Regions from separate parts of the Homo sapiens genome. Here all the other regions are linked to region 1. Evidence: promoter capture Hi-C in 16 types of primary human blood cells and fetal thymus (Javierre and others, 2016). All regions are on one chromosome and are shown on one strand. Each heading gives the region's core, a stretch centred on a gene start or on the middle of the fragment in contact. The rest is flanking DNA. Distances are from core to core; before and after follow the strand shown.

The links. Contacts are between HindIII fragments. The CHiCAGO score rates a contact against its expected background, and 5 or more counts as called.
Region 2: a fragment that was not itself captured here is called in contact with the fragment with the promoter of RAB9A in region 1 in 1 of 17 cell types (total CD8 T cells); the score reaches 5.1 in total CD8 T cells.
Region 3: a contact is called between the fragment with the promoter of FAM9C here and the fragment with the promoter of RAB9A in region 1, in 2 of 17 cell types (naive CD4 T cells and M0 macrophages). The highest score is 6.7, in naive CD4 T cells.
Region 4: a contact is called between a fragment that was not itself captured here and the fragment with the promoter of RAB9A in region 1, in 2 of 17 cell types (non-activated CD4 T cells and fetal thymus). The highest score is 6.8, in non-activated CD4 T cells.

The regions. Positions count from the first base shown.
Region 1 is chrX:13,687,877-13,690,576 of GRCh38, forward strand. RAB9A (RAB9A, member RAS oncogene family) reads left to right here and starts at 1,252. Exons shown (of 3, transcript NM_004251.5): 1 at 1,252-1,412. RefSeq lists an enhancer at 952-1,001 and silencers at 1,152-1,391, 1,402-1,561. The HindIII fragment of the contact is 3,610 bases long and covers 401-2,700 here.
Region 2 is chrX:13,024,744-13,027,443 of GRCh38, forward strand. No RefSeq gene overlaps it. Among named protein-coding and RNA genes, the nearest start is that of FAM9C, 19 kb to the right of the region's middle. The HindIII fragment of the contact is 3,108 bases long and covers 1-2,700 here.
Region 3 is chrX:13,043,197-13,045,896 of GRCh38, forward strand. FAM9C (family with sequence similarity 9 member C) reads right to left here and starts at 1,424. Exons shown (of 8, transcript NM_174901.6): 1 at 1,344-1,424; 2 at 533-661; 3 at 1-52. The coding sequence starts at 593. It overlaps LOC105373133 (a long non-coding RNA gene), which reads left to right and starts at 1,537. Exons shown (of 4, transcript NR_171577.1): 1 at 1,537-1,653. The HindIII fragment of the contact is 8,868 bases long and covers 162-2,700 here.
Region 4 is chrX:12,793,587-12,796,286 of GRCh38, forward strand. The region is part of intron 1 of PRPS2 (phosphoribosyl pyrophosphate synthetase 2); the gene reads left to right. Among named protein-coding and RNA genes, the nearest start is that of PRPS2, 3.5 kb to the left of the region's middle. The HindIII fragment of the contact is 1,610 bases long and covers 574-2,183 here.

The DNA.
Region 1 (2,700 bases), core at 2-2,501:
TAACTCTAGTGTTCATATATAATGTTTTACTGTGTACTTTTAATATGTGTTTTAAAACAAGATAGTGTATATTTCTTCTTCCCCCCAATTTAACAGATTTGTATTTTATAAACGTTTATACATATTTCCTTGGGGAAATGACCTGCAGATAAGAAATAGATTTCTGTTTATGAGAAAACAATTATTTAAGCTTATGTGTCGTTTTCAGAAGCATTCTAAAATTGCCTTTTTAATTTGTGAGGAACTTTCTCAAACATGACCTTTCTAGTGCTGAATGAAAAGTCATTACCTGAAAATGACTCCCCAAAAAGCTGGAGATTATTTAACTTGTTGTGAGCCCCAGCATCATAAAAGTGAGATCTTTGTCTTGGAAAATAAACAGACTAAATCTTTTTTAAAAAGCTTTTATTTTAGGTTTAGGGGTACATGTGTAGGTTTGTCATGTAGGTAAACTGCCTGTTGCAAGGGCTTGGTGTACGGATTATTTAGTTACCCAGGTAATAAGCATAGTACTTGATACCTAGTTTTTTTCTGCTCCTTTTCCTCCTCACACCCTCAACCCTCAAGTGGGCCCTGGTGTCTCTTGTTCCTCTCTATGTGACCATGAGTTCTCATCATTTAGCTTCTACTTATGAGTGAGAACACGCAGTATTTGGTTTTCTGATAAACAAACTAAATCACCGTACAAAACGTATTGAGATGTCCCTATGAGTCCCTCCCGCCTGTAGGGTTCTGTATCATAGGATCCATGCACTCAACTTCATACATAAAGCAAGGACTTAAGGAGAGCTTCTCCAATACCACCTTTTGCACCATCGCTTTCTATTCAGAGATGACAGAGGCAGTATTTTAACAAGATTAAAGGAAAGTTTTAATAGCTTCATTTAAAAAGTTCTTGTTTTTCCACAGTATCACAACTGTTTTCATTTTTCATCCACCTGTTTGTTCTTTGTCCGTTTGACTAGTCGTTTTTATCATTGTAATCACGACATCCTGTGACTGTGCTCATGAGGTCTGTTTATTTCCACTTTACGTAAACTTTTCAAAATGACAGTTATTTCGTACTCGCTGTCGCCCGAACGCAGACGGGAGGACACTTCAGGAGCAATCGACCCGAAGGAAAAGCACGATCCAGGCCCCGCCTGCCTCGGCTCCACCTTCCCCGCGCCCGTCCCCCAGGGTCTCGGCCGCGGGACCCCGCCTTCCAGGCCCCGCCCCGCTTTTTCCCTGGCCCCGCCCCGGCCCGTCGCCATGTTGTTCCCTCCGCGCTGGACGGGAGCAGCTGGAGCGGGAGCCTGGCTGCGCTACCGCGGCTGCCTCCTGCTGTGCAGGTCCCCGACCCTCTCTCTGTCCTCATTGCGCCCAGACGGGCCGGCCCAGAGCTCCCGGGTCGTCTTTCGTGTGGCCGCGAGGTGAGCGGGACTCGGGACTCCTTCGGGACCGGGCGGAGTGCGCGGGTGTCGGGGTCTGAGGGGGCGGCTCGGGCCTCGGGCAGCTGGGGCGGGGTGCGGTGCGCGCGGGGCTAGCGCGGGTCACAAGGCCGCCCCGGGAGAGAGGACGGCTGGTTGTCTCCCTGCCTCCTCTCTGACGCAGGAGGAAAGACGGTCCCCACACCCTTGGGGAGAGGGACTCACAGAAACACACACAAACACTGGAGAAAGGGAGATACAAAAGCCCGGACACCCGTGCACATACACACGGAGAAATACACCCGGTCACCTGGGAACACACGTACACGCCAGCCTTTCCCCCAACCACTCCGGGACACACATCCACAGACCCCAAACCAAATCCTACACCCGAATGATTAATGTAGGGAAAACAAAGGCGCTCCCATGACTTGATTTTGGCGACCTCTGAAGTTCCACCTAGCAGAACGTGTTTGCTCGATGTCTTACGACCACTCGGGTGAGGAATTCGGAAAGTAAAGCCAATCTTAGAGGCTGCAGGCGTTTTGGGGGCATTATCTGATTCAGACGCTGGCTAACGTTTCACAATCGCGTTCCCTTTTTTCTTCCAACTTGGTAAGTAAAAAGGCAAAATGAGAAATTTAAGTGCTGAACTTAATAAATAGTTGGTGGACGTATTGCTTTTTTTTTTTTTTGGTAAGGGATGACACATCTCGTGACTACAGTTCTTTTGAGGAATAACTTTTCTGCTAGTTTCCAAATCGGCACGTGACCACAATCTTTTCATAGGATTTTAGCGTCCTGATAAAAATCAATGGGCAGAATTTGATTGCTTCTTTAAAAATGTGTTTGTCCTTCGGTCTCTGGCACCATTGTAATGGAAAATCCCTACATTGCCTGTACTCTCAGAAGCTGTCCAGTGTAGCAAAACTAGAGATAAAGAAACCTGGAACGATTCAGTTAGGAACTTTTAAGAAGCCAGCCTTTAGTTTTTCCTTTAGAAGATTATGAAGTTATCATGATTGCTTCTCTAGAACTTTAGTAGTTATTTGGATTCCTAAATCTAAGACAATGCTGTGGCAGTCTGGTGCTTTTAGTATTTTTGTGTCTGCTGTGGTAAATTCCTCGTTTATACTACAAAGTTTCTCTTCTGGAGACTTTTGGGATCTGGGCATATTTTTTCGTTTATTATTTGGAATGTTAGAGTAGATAGGCAAACACTAAGTAGAACATCATTGGCTTTGACTCCAAGCCGGGTTTTAGAGATAAGGGAAATAATACCTTAGTGCTA
Region 2 (2,700 bases), core at 17-2,516, 660 kb before region 1:
CTCAGCCTCCTCAGCAGCTGGGACTACAGGCACACGCCGCCACGCCCGGCTAATTTTTGTATTTTTAGTAGAGACGGGGTTTCACTGTGTTAGCCAGGACGGTCTCGATCTCCTGACCTTGTGATCCGCCCGCCTCCCAAAGTGCTGGGATTACAGGCATGAGCCACCGCGCCTGGCGCGTCTTTCCCTTTTTAGCCAATTATTTTGTTGTGTAGACAGAGCCTCAACCAGCCCCGGTACCATTTGTCTCTTCCCAACGACTCCTCCCTATTCTCCTTCCTGGTAGTTCTGTGGGCTCCTTCATGCTGGTTTCCATGCCACAACCTATCTGGAATCTTGGAATTGCAGAACTTCAGAGGAAAGAGAAGTCTGGAGTATATCTGAAGTCATGACAAACAACTTCCTTTCCCCATAGCTGATAAAGAATGGGCCTGCAGGTCCCATATGAAGGGAAGGTGTGAACACCCTGCATGATAGGAAACAGTTTACAATGCCCTGGAGGTCCCTATGATTCACTGAGCAGTGCTGGACAACTAGACAAAAGCAAATATATCCACCCGGTTCAGGGGGCTTAGCCAGCTGTTTACCACGCCAGCAGTTTTCCTGTTTCACACCCCATATCCTTAATATAGGGCATTCTCTTAAGGGACCTATCATGTCCCTTCCAGTACACTCATTGTCAGTCTTTCCTTTTTTCTCCTCCCTTCACTCTTTCCACATTTCATCCAAATTGTTCTCTTTTCCTCCCCCTCCAGGGGAGAACAGGAGGATGGCCTGTGCCTGTTTCCAGTCTTACCATGAGCACAGCCAGTTGGTGTTTACACATGAAACGGAACTAACTGATCTCCTATGCATGTACATCAGAGGGAAGTACCTGTTTTCCTTTGAATTCAATAGGCAGCTAATGAGTTTTCCATTCCTTCTGATCTCAACCTGCTGTCACGTCCACTAGTGGGTGATCTTCTTTCTGTTGCAAAAGAAGACTTTCTGAACTCCTATGTGGGTGGTCATTTATGAAGGTTGATTGGTGTTTGAAAATAATTTAGAACTCTGTATGTTCATATGTGTATGTGTGTATGTGTAAAAATAAAACTTGATTGGCATGACATCATGGGTGCTGGGAGTGGGTCTGGTAACCAGAATAAAAAGTGGTCTTCTCTGTCCCTTGTCTAGCCACAATTAGGAGAGAGTATGGATTGTCAGGAAATGGAGCTTGTTCCACCCTCTCACTGTGGCTTAAGAATTTTCTTCTCAACAATGAAAAGATGCACAGATCATAGTACAGGAGATAATAAGAGTCACTCTTGCTATCTTCAGCAGATCATAGTTGTACACCATTCTATAAAAATATGAGAGAGAGAGAGAGAGAGAGAGAGAGAGAGAGAGAGAGAAAGATCTTTGTAGGAATAAACATAGAAAGCCATTTTATCTACAAAGCCAATTCAACCTGGACTGCAGTACTTACAATCATAAAGTTCTAGTTAGGTTATTAGTTAGTGGTTGACAACCATAAAGTACCAGTTAGGTTATTAGTTAGTGATTGGAGGGATGCAAAAGCTGACTTGAATACATGACTTCAATCACTTGGACACATGTTTAATTTCCTGTAAGAAAGCTGCAGAAAATCAATGACCTAAATATCTGAACTTGGGTATTTCCAAGGAAACCACCAGACTTCCCCATTGTCTTAGATTAAATACAATTAATAAAATGCCTAACAGACCCCAGAGTTCTTCTGTGTAATTAGATCAATAGCAGTACAACATCTGAGATTTACTTCTCTCTCCAACAAGACCCTTTAGGCTTGGTAACACATCCAAGTGGAAGAGGAAAGAAAGAAAGAAAAACCCAAAACCAAAAGCACAAATAAAACTACCGCTGAAATTAAGAAGTTAGGATCTTCCCAAAGGCAAGCAACTAAACTCATTCTACCAGTGAGACTGAGTGGAACCCTCTGCTCAGCCATTCCTCAGCATTGGACATGGCTTATTCTTGATGTTTGTATAAAATATGGGTTGGTCCACAGGAAAGACATTCATTTTAAAAATAAGATAAAAAATATGAGTTAGCATCAATAAAATTCTACGTTTTAAGAAATGCAGGTTGGTATTATCAGCCCTGATTTGCAGATAGAAAAACTGGCTGTGAGATCATCAGCAATCCTGACGTCTAGAAGATTTCAAGGCCGGGACTCAAACCTACGACTCTATAGTGTAGAGCTTATGCTGTCTCCTTAAATAGTCATGGCTTCGCTAGGCTCACTAGAGGGAGATGATTTCACATACAATATTTAAAAAGTAAGGATGTAGGGGCAATGAAAATGTGGCCCAACTATATCTTAAAAGGAAGATAGTTCACTGGCATATCAGGTCATGAAACAACCACGAGTGTGAACTAGGAAACCACAATGCATGTGAGAATGGCCCAAACACAATTGACTGCACCATCTGGAGAAAAGGTGAAGCCTACACAGAATGCCAAGTAGAAAAATGAGATGGGTTTATGTCAAGCGAAGATTAACATTTCATGTATCTTCTCACTTTAAGCACTTCGTCCTGCTTCTGGTATATCCCTTCACCCTGAGCTGAAGCGAGTTCATTAGTTAGGTGGAAAACAAGAGGAAAGCCAGTGGAAACTGACACTCTTTTTAGATTGTAACCCCTACTTGGGGCAAACCTACAGGATCTCAATGACAGAGGT
Region 3 (2,700 bases), core at 174-2,673, 640 kb before region 1:
GTCTCTGTAACAGGTTTTCTTTCCTCATGCTCATGACTTACTGGATCCTTTCCTGCATTAAAATAAAAAAGACAAACCTTTTTTAGAGGAAGACGCTGTTGTGGACATTTTTCATAGAGAAACGTACTATTTGTAGACTTTTTTGGCTCTCCGCCAATTAAAGCTTTACCGCAGAGCTATACATGGAATCGCCGGCTCCTAACCATTTTACGGAGGCATTTTTGGAAGCCCTTCGGGTTCAAGTCCCAGTAAACAACGTTCACAGGTCAGATCCCTTGGATGTCAGGACCGCATCCATGGAGAAGAGCTGCTCTGAGAGCATCTGTAACCCTGCTATGAGGGGGAGCCTCCCACGGGAAGCCTAAGGCCCTTGAGCCTGCTTTGAAAACCTGGGGCATCTCAGCACATGCACGGTGAGCTCCAAAGCCACGAAGGGGCCGGGGGCCTCGGGCTGCCCATGTGCGCCCCGCCCAGAAAGCAGACAGACTGTTGGGCGTGCACCTTCTTCTAGGTCCCCTTGGGCTGTGTTTACCTGCAAGCTCCATTTCCTGGGCGGCCATAACTTGAACCTCCAACTGGTCCTTGGCAGCCATCCTGCTGCCCTTCCTGCCCACGGGCTCCGTGGCTGACTGGCCTGGGAAGCTAGAGGCGACCTCTGAACCTGGTGAGTGCAAAGACACACTAAGGACACTAAGGAAACGAGGCGTGTTAAATGAAAATCATCAGGATCGCAGGTTCAAGGGCGCCCCGGGTCTCCCGTGGGAGCAGGAGGGGACGCGGAGAAGATGCCATCATCCCCTCCTGTCCTGGCCCGTCCAGCGCTTCCCCGGGGCTGGCTGCAGAGCTCGCAGAATTCCGCGGCCTCTGCGGGATTCTTGCAGTGCCCTTGGGACAGAGCCTGGCCCTGCCCCTGGGTTCCCCAGCGACCCAGTGGAGTCGGGAGGGCCGCGGGGTGACACAGGATCTCCCCAGCCATCTCCATGGGAATGAGCCGGTACGCACCTGTTTCTGACAGGGGCAGGGACTGCCCATTCGCCAGCCTGGACGCCCAGGGGACCCCTGGTGACCCCAAGTATCCCGTCCTGATGGGCAGCCAGACAAGACGGACCCACGTTGACCCCCCGACCCCCCCCCAAACGCTGCACACATGCACAGGCCTCCGGGACCCTCCTGGGTCCTGGGGACCACTCAGGCAGCTCCAACTCCCTGCCCTGACCCAGGCCCCAGGCGACAATGCCTGGGCCATTTCCTCACAGATCAGCCTGGCTGCCCCGCCCTTCACACCCTCTTCCCCAAAGGGCCTCTGGCCCGCCTTCCCCGCATCCCCACCGAGGGCGTCTCACCTGAGGGAGCCCTGATGTTGCTCCCTCAGAGGACCTGCAGAGGCTGGCACCGCGAAGCTCCTCCGAGGGCCTGGGTCCTCTGTTCTCACGAGAGCAGCAGCCGCCCCGGCTGCCCGCGCTCCTCGCTGATTGGTCGGCCCAGTGCGCATGCAGGTGGCGGGCGGCATGGGGCCACGCCCCCTGCAGGCACACCCTCCCCCTCACGGACTGTCCATGGCTGCTGTGGACTCATTGGGTGGCTCTCTGAGGCCTCTGTCCCCACGATATTCCAGCTCCTCATCCTGGTGAAGGAAGCAAGGACTCGGGAGTGGTGAGTGCCAGGGGACCCTGCCCTAAGGAATGGAGGCCAAGTGAACGGGGCCTAGGACCTTGCCCCCAGGCTCGTTCCAGCCACTCCTGCCCCTTTGGGTGGAATGGCCATCACCCTGCGGGTGGAGCCCAGGCTCCCTCCCATGTCCTGTGTGCTTCCAACACGCCCAGCTGCATCCTTTTTATCAATGGATTGTGCTTTTATGTTTTATCTAAGAAAATTGTTGACTCCCAGCAGGGGCAGGTAGTTTTCTCCTATCCTACTCCATTCCCTCACACTGGGCATTGCATGATTCTGCAGTGGATATACAAAGTTAAAGACTTTATGTCTAGATTTCTCATGATGTGGTCATTTCTTTTCTTTCATTTTTCTTTTTTCTTTTTTTTTTTTTTTTTGACAGGGTCTTGCTCTGTCACCCAGGCTGGGCTGCAATGGTGTAATCACTACTCACTGTAGCCTCAACTGCCCGCGCTCAAGGGATCCTCCCACCACAGCCTCCCAAGTAGCTGGGACTACAGGCATGTCCCACCATGCCCAGCTAATTTTATTTTATTTATTTATTTATTTTTAGAGACAGAGTCTTACTCTGTCCCCAGGCTGGAGTGCAGTGGCACGATCTCGGCTTCCTGCAACCTCTGCCTCCCTGGTTCAAGCAATTCTCCTGCCTCAGCCTCCCAAGTAGCTGGGACTATAGGCGCACGCCGCCACGCCTGGCTGATTTTTTTTTTTTTTTTTTTGTATTTTAGTAGAGACAGGGTTTCACCGTGTTGCCCAGGCTGGTCTCGAACTCCTGAGCTCAGTCAGTCTGCCCGCCTCAGCCTCCCAAAGTGCTAGGATTACAGGCATGAACCACCGCTCCTGGCCAATTTTGTTTATTTTTTGCAGAGATGAGGTCTCACTATGTTGCCCAGGCTGGTCTGCAACTCCTGGGCTCAAGCGATCCGCCCGCCTCAGCCTCCTAAAGTGCTGGGGTTACAGGCTTGAGCCATCGTGCCCAGCCCGATTATTTCCACAGCTGGGTTGGAAGCCATCTTTCCCTGACAAGGC
Region 4 (2,700 bases), core at 129-2,628, 890 kb before region 1:
ATGAACTGTACAAGTACAGAGCTTAATTTTTATAAACAGCCCTCTCTGGACCAGTTACTGTGCTAGGAATCCAGCTTTTAGCTGTGTAATCGTAGAGAGGAAAAACTGAAGGGCAAAATGAAGACAAAATTGATTCAGTTCATGTAAGGGCCCCTTCTTGAATCTGTCACTGAACTAGGATCAGAAATCTGGTTTGCTGTCTCCTGGCCATCAATCCTCCCATTTTGCGTTTTTTATATGCTACTTTACTGAACATAGAGCCTTCCAATTTTACCTTCTTATCCCTAAATCATTTCAGATATGCAGGGAGAGGTCCGCTCCAGCTTCACTATAGACCATGGAAATTCCATGATGACATCTTAGGACAGCAGGTGTCTAGATGTCTCTGTTGTAACATTTTACTATGGTCAGTTAACCTGCTGGCAGAATCTTTAGCTATACTGTGAGACAAGGTTATGCAAAGTTATACAAGGTTATCGGTTACCATGTAATAAATAAAGAGCTTAATGGCTTAAAACAGTAATTGTTGATTTGGCTTACAAATCTGCAATTTGGGAAGGGCTCAGTGAAGAAAGCTTGTTTTTGCCGCGTATGGTCACAGCTGAGGCTGGTCACAGCTGAGGCGGCTAACTGGGGCTGGAGGGTTCTTGAAGATGGCTCACATGACTGAAGTTGTTACTAGCTTTTGCCTGGGAGCTTGGTTAGGAACCTCAGCTCCTCTTCTTGTAGGCCTCTCCATGGGGCTGCTTGAGCTTCCTTACAGCATGGAAGCTGGGTTCTAAGAGCACATGTTCCAAAAGACAGGACATTGAAGCCACCAGTCCATTAAGGACTGGGCTTGCAAGTTGGTGTATCATAATTTCTGTCATATGCTGTTGGGCAAGTACAGAGCCCTCTCAGATTCAAGGGCGGGAGACTAGACCCTGCTCCTTGATGGGAAATGTGTTAAGAGTCTGTGGCTATCTTTTAGTTACCATGCCCGTTTATTGTTGAGTCAGTGACGCTCTTCAGCGTTTTTATTTGGGGGTCAATAAAGATCCTCTGGCAGAATGGCAAATGGATGCTGCCTTCTAGCCACAATTTTTTAAAGACCTAGAATAAAGGTAGTCATGATCATCTTTTTGAGTAGAAGCAGGACTAGCTTTAGGGGAAAAGTTGCCATGGTGATGATATTCTCTGTCCTCCCCTGGACTGCTAGTCATATGAGAACTGAGGTTCCTGAGTAAAAACAGGCCAAAGAATCTAATCTTGTGGGATAAACGTCATAAGACCAGGAGTTGGCAAAGTTTTTCTGCAAAGGGCCAAATCGTAAATATTTTAGGCAGTGCTAGCACATGTAGTCTCTGTTGCTGCGGTATCTTACAGTTCTGTAAGTTACGGTAATGTCTGTCACAGGTTAGCAGGGCTGTATTCTCTTCTGAGGCTCTAGGGGAGAATCTGTTCCCGTGCCTTTTCCGGTTTCCAGAGGCAGCCCACATTCCTTCACTATTGGCCTCTTCACCTTCAATGTCAGCAACAAAATGTTGCTCTGACCCTGCTTCTGCTGTCTCCCTCTTGCATTTTTAAGGGCCCCATGATTACAATGGGCCAATTTAAATAATCCAGGATAATTTCCCCATGTTAAGGTCAGCTGATGAGCAACCTGAATGCTATCTGCAAATTTACTTCCCCTTTGCCATATAAACTCACATATTCAAAGGATTAGGATGTAGACATCTTTAGGGGGCCATTATTCTGCCTACCACGCCATTCTTAACTCACAGGCCATAGAAAAACAGCCTATGTGCTGTGTTTTGTCAACCTCTCAGCTATATAATACTGTACTTGATTTCTGCTGTAGTTCATTTTGTGCTGCTATAACAGAATACCAGAGACTGGCTAATTTATAAACAATAGAAATTTGTTTCTCACAGGTCTGGAGGCTGGGAAGTCCAATACTGAGGGGCTGGCATCTGGCAAGGGCTTTCTTGCTGCATCATCCCATGGCAGAAGGGTGGAAGGGCAAGAGAGCATATTTGAGAGAGAGCAATAGAGGGCCAAATTTGCTAATATAATAAACCCATTCTCAAGATAATGAGCACACTCTAGCAATGATGACGTTAATCCGTTTGTGAGGACAGAGCCCTTATGACCTAATCACCTCTTAAAGGTCTCACCTGTCAATACTCCTATACTGGGGATTAAGCTTTCAACACATGAACTTTAGGGAACACATTTAAACCATAGCAATTTCCAAATTAAGTTTATGTCATAGTTGATGTAGTGTTCACAAAGCAGTTAGATTTAGCTCCTTAGATCTTCAAATAGGAGGGAGCACATAGAACTCTTTCTATCCCCCTCATCCTGTGAGGTTGGCATATTTTCATCCATAGTAGAAGGCGTGCAAGAAGATGTGTGAATGTTATCAAAACTAATTTTCACAACATGTCAACTTGAAAAACTTTATTTTTATTTTCCTTTTCTTTAAAATTTTTTTTAGAGACGGGGTCTTGCTATGTTGCCCAGGCTGGACTAGAACTCCTGGGCTCAAACAATCCCCTTGCCTCAGTCTCCCAAGTAGCTGGGACTGTGGGCATGAGCCACCATGCCCAGCCTGTTTTTAAATTTTCATTAGGTATAATTGGCTCTTTTTTTTTTTTTTTTTTTTTTTTGAGACAGAGTTTCACTTTTGTTGCCCAGGCTGGAGTGCAATGGTGCGAT